Regions from separate parts of the Homo sapiens genome. Here region 1 is linked to region 2. Evidence: promoter capture Hi-C in 16 types of primary human blood cells and fetal thymus (Javierre and others, 2016). All regions are on one chromosome and are shown on one strand. Each heading gives the region's core, a stretch centred on a gene start or on the middle of the fragment in contact. The rest is flanking DNA. Distances are from core to core; before and after follow the strand shown.

The links. The method cuts DNA at HindIII sites, captures the fragments that hold promoters and counts their contacts. A CHiCAGO score of 5 or more calls a contact.
Region 1: a fragment that was not itself captured here is called in contact with the fragment with the promoter of BLK-AS1 in region 2 in 1 of 17 cell types (total B cells); the score reaches 5.1 in total B cells.

Annotation. Positions count from the first base shown.
Region 1 is chr8:11,611,944-11,615,398 of GRCh38, forward strand. No RefSeq gene overlaps it. Among named protein-coding and RNA genes, the nearest start is that of LINC00208, 37 kb to the left of the region's middle. The HindIII fragment of the contact is 2,562 bases long and covers 705-3,266 here.
Region 2 is chr8:11,556,875-11,560,237 of GRCh38, forward strand. It overlaps BLK-AS1 (BLK antisense RNA 1), which reads right to left and starts at 1,391. Exons shown (of 5, transcript XR_948956.3): 1 at 1,016-1,391. It overlaps BLK (BLK proto-oncogene, Src family tyrosine kinase), which reads left to right. Exons shown (of 13, transcript NM_001715.3): 10 at 1,088-1,164. RefSeq lists an enhancer at 1,561-1,850. The HindIII fragment of the contact is 8,296 bases long and covers 1-3,363 here.

The DNA.
Region 1 (3,455 bases), core at 736-3,235, 56 kb after region 2:
GTTGCATAACAGTGTAGATATTCTTAATGCCACTCAACTGAATCCTTAAAAAATAGTTACAATGGTAACTTGTAGCTAGGTTCTGTATATTTTATTACAATTTTAATTTTAAAAAATAAAGCTGGATTCACAAAAGAAGGGACTCAGACTTCTCAAGGGCCCAGATGATCTTGAAATGAACAGATTGTGAGCACTGGGGAGAACTCGGGCTGACCCTGAGACAGAAATGGCAGAGGACACTCTGGGATGTGCACGGCTTCAGCCCGAGAGGGTGCATGCACGAGGAAAGCGAAAATTGACGCAAGAGGTGCATCAGCCTCCTACGCCACTCTTCTGCAAAGCACCTCCCCGATAACCTTCCTGTAGTAGTGACAATCACTACAAAAATAAACATGGCTAACGTTTATGGAGCATGTATTCTGTGCCAGTCACTGTGCTGAGCACACTAGAGGCTTTGTTCCTTTAAAACCCACAACAAGCTTAGGAGACAGGAAAACTGAGATGCAATATGACGAAGTAGCTTGAGCCAGAGACCCGCCCACCACCCCCCTCCCCAGCTCTGTCCAGCGTGCTCTGCAGCCCCAAGGGGCTGGGGGAGTGGGTAGAGATGGTAGGAGGGCAACATGATGAACTGGGGCTTCAAAGCACATGGGCCTCTGGCTATGAATCCAGGCATTGTACTCACTGTGGATCACTTAACTCTAAGCTTCAGTCTCTTCATCTGGAAATAGGGGCTAATGATCATCGTACCTACCCCATGGATTACCTCCAGGATTCAATGAGACAGCAATGTGAAGTGCTCAGCCCAGCGCCTGGCACGGAGAAGGGCTGAGAGCCGTAAGCTCTCCTTGTTGGCATGGCCTCTGCCTCCTCTGCACCTCAGAGCACTTGGTTGCCCGCATCTCTTTGCACGTAGCAACTTCCACCGTGCGTGAGAGCACTTTGATTCAGCCCAGCAACCTCCTCACTCTCCACAGAGGATCTGCCGTTTGGGGCCAGAGGTCATAGTTGGCTGATCCCTGGGCTCCAGCAGCAGCATAGGAAGTGCTCAGGGAACGTCTGAGTGAATGGTAAAATAATAAATGGATGCATGGTGCTCTTTGACTAAAAAACCCTCCAGTAGCTATAATAGGAGCCACAGCCTAGCCTGCGAGAGGAAGGGCAGTGGAGACCCCGCTAATGAGGAAGGCCAGAGCACCCGCCAACCGGTCCCGGCTCAGACAGCCAGACGGCTGGCCGGCCCCTTCCAACTGGCTGGGCTGATCTCGCAGAGGATAAGAGGGAGCCGGCGGCTTCGGCTTGGCCAGGGAGACAGCCTTGGGCCTGTGGGTGCCGGTGCCGGCTCCCGGGCAGACAGACAGGCCAGGAGGAAGTCACAGGCCTGGGCCCTCAGGCCCGGGCGGCAGCGGCTCCAGAGGACCTGACCATGGAACACTGGAGCCTGTGAAAAAAAATGAGAGTGGGAAATGGGAGTCAAGGAGCCAAGGGAAATGGCGGATCTGTTAACAGGCTGTTTTTGCTTTTGTCTCTGGAGAAGGAAAAGAATGGAGAATAAAGAGGAGCGTCGCAGGCCGGCTTCCTGTGCCCCGGCCAGGGTGGATCGCACCAGATAATGACTGATAGCCGTGGAAACGGGGAGACAAGATAGAGGGGAGGCCGGCTGCAGCGGCAGACCCCCGGAGCCAGGGAGGGGAGCCGGAGGGACGAGGAAGACGCTGAGGAAGCGCAGAGGAAGTGCTAGGCGAGGGGAGAACCGCGGGCCCGGAGCAGCCGCCCAGGGTCCGGGCCAGGGCCTCGTGTCTGGAACCAGGCTGGGAGGCTGGGCCTGAAAGCAGCCTGGCACGTCCCACTTTCTCCAGCAAGTTCCCAACCAGCTCCAGTGTCCCTTCCTCCGCGGAAAAACGGGGCTATGGCGGGTGGGTTGAAAGAACTCGGCTTCCTCCGTGGGTGTTTGTGGTGTGAACAGAGGTGCTGCAGGGTGAATGGCTGGGGCACCAGGAGCTCCACCAAGTGACTGTTTCCTTCCCTTCCCTGAAAGCGGCTTCAGGCGGAGGCTGGGCTCCTCACTGACACCCCAGGACAGCCTGGGGGTCTCAGCTCCAGCCCCTTTGACTGAGGCGGCAGCCTCAGGCTTGGGCAGCCGCCTCCTGGGGACCAGGGCCTCCTTCGGCTCTGCTATGGGAGGAGAATTGGGAAGCCCACGGCTCCAGCGTGAAGAGTGGTTCATTGTGAGGTTCTCCGGCTGGCTGCATGCCGTTCCGCTCACCACCTTCCCTCCTGAGACGTTGCCTGGTGTTGCCTACCTGCCCAGGGCCCAGACACGGCATGCCTGGGTTCTAACCTGGTCACCGAGGAGGATGGCACGCTCATGCACCGCTCCCTCACAGAGCCTGGCAGGCGCTAACTGGGGCTGCAGAGACAGAAGCAGCGAATGAAGCCAGGGAAGAACCCGGGAGCGACTCCCCTCCCCTTCCCCGTGTCCGGCCCCCCCAGGTGGTTTTTCTTCCTGAGCCCTCCGCTCCTGCTCTTCTCTTAAAAGTCTCCAACATCTCTCTGGCTCCCGATCTCCGAAGCTGAGATGTGAGTCCAGGGTGGCCTCCTCACTTGGATTCAAACGCTGTCACTTCTCATCGTCAAAGTCTGCCTGGAAAACTCAGGGCAGTCCATCTTCCCTGCAATCACTAGTCTGTGCAGAGCACACTGGTCTTTATCCTCGTATTTATTCATTCACCCTGTGTTTGCTAAACACATCTGTGTGCTGGCCACCACGCCAAGACACGAAATACGGTGGGAACAAGAGTGACAGTCCCTGCCCATGGGGCTTAGATCTGGGGGTAGATACAAGAAATGAACAAATCATCACACAGCATAGCAAATGCTAGTAAGGGTTTGGTGAAAGATACAAACTGAGAAGGAGGTGCTGATTTAGGTGAATAGTCAAGGAAGAATACATCAGTGACCTCTAGGTCCAGGTCATTGATTACTGGAGTGAGTCATTATTTCACAAACAAAATTGCAAATCCCAACGGAGAAAGGATAGAAATGTGAAAGACAGGATAGAAGGGAGGGAGAAACGAGAAAGGGAACAATTAAAAAGAGGAGCTGGGCATTGTATGCTAACGTGGGTTTTGTAAAGCCAAGGGGCTCTGATAATGCAAAGTTGTTTGTTCTGGGAAGGGAGAGGGCACTTCAGTGTATGTAAGAATTTTCCAGGAAACCCAGCCAGACCCTCCAACACCCTGGACATCAGACACTGAGATCACTGAAGCTTAAGGAGTGTAAGTGCTTAGTTAAGCAAAGAGGCACCCTGGAAATGCCGCCTTAAACCCAGGGATCCAACCGATGGAACGCGTGTTCTAGGCATAAACTTGACAGGAGAGAAAATTCCACCCTTCAAAAAAAAAAAAAGTGACAGATCTGGAAAACTGTCAAGAACTGTTTTCTGTTTCTATACC
Region 2 (3,363 bases), core at 141-2,640:
CGGGAGGGCCGGGCTTAGCAGGAGGAGGAGGGTCCGCTGCGGTGGGTTCACCAGGCCAGGGGGTCCTGCAGATCTAGGGCATGGCACGGTGTGGGGACAGGGAGGGATGGAGGGAGGGGGAGGGACAGAGGGAGGGTGAGAAACAGGAGGGTGAAGTGGTTCTGACAGAGCCATGTTCTCAGCCCAGGAGCAGTTCAGACAGCATTTCTGGAGTGCATCTTCTGTGCCTAGCACTCTTTGATGCCTGCTGGGAGGGACAGAGCATTGCAAAGTCAGACGAACACCAGGCCAGGCATGCAGGGACAGTACTAGATCCAGGTCTCCTGCCTCCTGGTCATGCAACCATTTACAACTGTGTGAATATTTTACAAGGATGGCCAGAGAGGTTGGGCTTGATGGCCTCTGAGGTCCACGGCGTGGCCAAGTTCTCATGCCACTTTCTCACCCTCCTATGACCCTGACCGCACACTGCTCCTATAGGATCCTAACATGCCCATGTTGATATAGCTCCCTAACAACTGTCACCAAGGGGCCCCCGGTCGGAGGCTGTGCTGGGGGTGCCTCTAGCCTGCCCCTAGGGCAAGCATCCATCCCTCCCAGCTTTCTGATTCCAGGGGGAGCTGCATTTGTCCCCTGCACCAAACCTGGGGGACAGTTCTCTCCATTCTGGTGCTTTCTTGCTGATGCCTGGTCCTCAGAGGCAGAGGGTGTCTGCCAGCAGGGATCAAGGGAGCGAGGCCAACACGGGGGGAAAGACAAGAAGGGGCATGAAACTTCGAGTCAGAACTGGGGTCCCACTCCCAGCTCCCGGCTGGGTGACTTCAGACAGGTCCCTGCACCTGGCTGAAACCTAACTTCTGGGCAACTGCTGGTATATTGGCTGCCTCCCGGGGTGCTGAGACTGGCATTTTGTAAAGTGGAAGGCACTCGGCAGCAGTAGGTAGATCCTTCCTGATGCACCGAGAGATCTGAGGGTGCAAACTCCCACTTCCCGCGCCCATGGGGAGCCACTCACACCAGAGAGAGGCTGGCACCACCAGGGGCGGGTCACTTTGCAGAAGGGCACTTGCAACTTCTCTTTTCTTAGGATGCCTGCTGGATTTCCTGAAGACAGATGAAGGGAGCAGATTGTCACTCCCAAGGCTGATTGACATGTCGGCGCAGGTTGGTGAAGTACCAGGTGCAGAGAAAGGGCGGCATGTGCCACCTGCTGCCCACAATGGCTGCTCGTGCCTTACCACCCCATCCTCTCAGCCAGCAGGAGAAGTCAGGGGGTACTGAAGGCCACCTTCCTCTAGGCAGATATCCCCAAGGTCACCCACTGCACTTGGACTTGCAAACCCTGGCCACTGTGCCTCCTGCCCCACGCAGCTGTGAGGGAGCCCAGGGAATGGAGCCTTAGACCCGGGCTGCTGTGTTGGAATGAGGCTATTCTGTTCCGAAGGAAGAGAGGGCGAATGAATGTCATGGGAAACACACAGAGTTAGCAAGAGTTCCATTGAACCCGGCAGGCAAGTGTGTTCTGTTGTGACCTCATCTCTTCCTTAGATGGTGCCCACAAACATCTCCTGTAGGACTTCCCATCCCAGGGGCCCTCAGCCTTTGCACAGCCCTGGCGTCGACCCCAGGCTGATGGGCAGGCCTGAGCTACACACAGATGCCAGGGACATGACTTCTCTGAGCCCTGGAGGACAGCCCCACCTTCTGCCACCAGGGAATTGCGAGTGCTGGACCTCCTTGGCTACCCAGGACTGGTCCTCAGTGTCCCTCACGTTCACATGCAGAACTTTCTGGACTCCATGGGGTGAAGAGCAGAGTGGAGAGGAGGGTTTTAGCCGAGAGCTCTAGCTGGCAGGAAGCACATCTGGTGGCCCTGTTAAAACTGGAACTCTCAGCAGAAAAGTTTTGGTCTGTGGTCAGCCTGTGAGGCACACACGTGCGTACACATACACACACACATACAGCTGCCACCGAGAGGAAACGCTCCCACCCACCGCCCACATCAGCCCTCCCACCTCGCCCCTCGCCCAGCCTTACCCAGTAGCGCCGCTGCAGGAACTGATGCCACAACGCCTTTTTCCGCTGAGGTGGGCAGACAGCCATCTGGGCAGGCTGGTTTTGGAAAATGAGTGCTGGTAACCGGCTTCAAACCCCAGGGCAGTGATAAGCCTGCCCACTGCTGCTGCTTCCTTTCCCCTTCCTTCTCTCACCCTCCGCTGTCTCCTATTCAATCCCCACTACACCCCCTTGGGAAATCTCGTGTGACCCAGGGGCAAAGGATGTGAAAAGCCATCGGAGTTTAATACCTGGATGTAGCCACAGAATCGGGGGTGAGGAGCCAGAAAATCAGAACTTCCCAGAAGGGCAGCCTCTAACCACATGCTGACCATGCCAATGGCTCTCTAAGCACACATGTACACACACACACTCTCACACACATAAAAACACAGACTCACACACACACGGACAAACACAAACACATACACAGACTCACACAGACACGCAAACTCACACACAGACAGACACACACACAGACACACAGACTCACACACACAAACTCACACAGACACACAAATACACAGACTCAGACTCAAACACAAACTCACACAAACACATTTACACAAACTCACAAACTCACACACACAAACACACACACAAACACGCAAACTTACACACACATGAGCAGACACACACCCGGCCCTTCTGGGCTCTTCTTTTCTTACTCCATAGGAAGCCATGCAAAGTCTCGCCAGACCTTTCTTCCAAGGCCAGATCTGGCCAACCCCACAGGAACCCTGCAATCACAATCCCTCGGGCCCCACTTTGCAGCCAGATGCCACCGGTTCCCATGCCCCATGCCTCGCCACCCCTCTACCTCCTCTGCCCAGGAAGCCTTGAACACTTCCCACCTGGCAGAATCCTTATCATCATCCATGGCTCAAGCGTAATGTCATTTCTATGAAGGTTTCCCTGGACAAGAAACTGCCAGAGAGCCCTTAGCTCAGGTGTTCCCGGAAGCACTGTTCTTGCTCAGCAGATCTGGGCAGCTTCTTCTTGAAAGCAGATCTGGGCCCTACTCAACATTTTTTAAAATATATTTCTGGTACTGTTCAATAAATATTAGTTATCAGAACGAGTACTGTTAGATGCTGCCCAGATATATTTAGTACTCAGTTTTATATTCCCCACAGTCCCATATTAGTAAATGAGTATTGATTGCATGGTGTAGCAAGGGGATGGATGGATGCATGGATGGGTGGATGCGTGGGTGGGTGGGTGGGTGGGTGGGTGGGTGGATGGATGGATGCATGGATGGATGGATGGATGGATGGATGGATGGATGCATGCATGGATGGATGAATG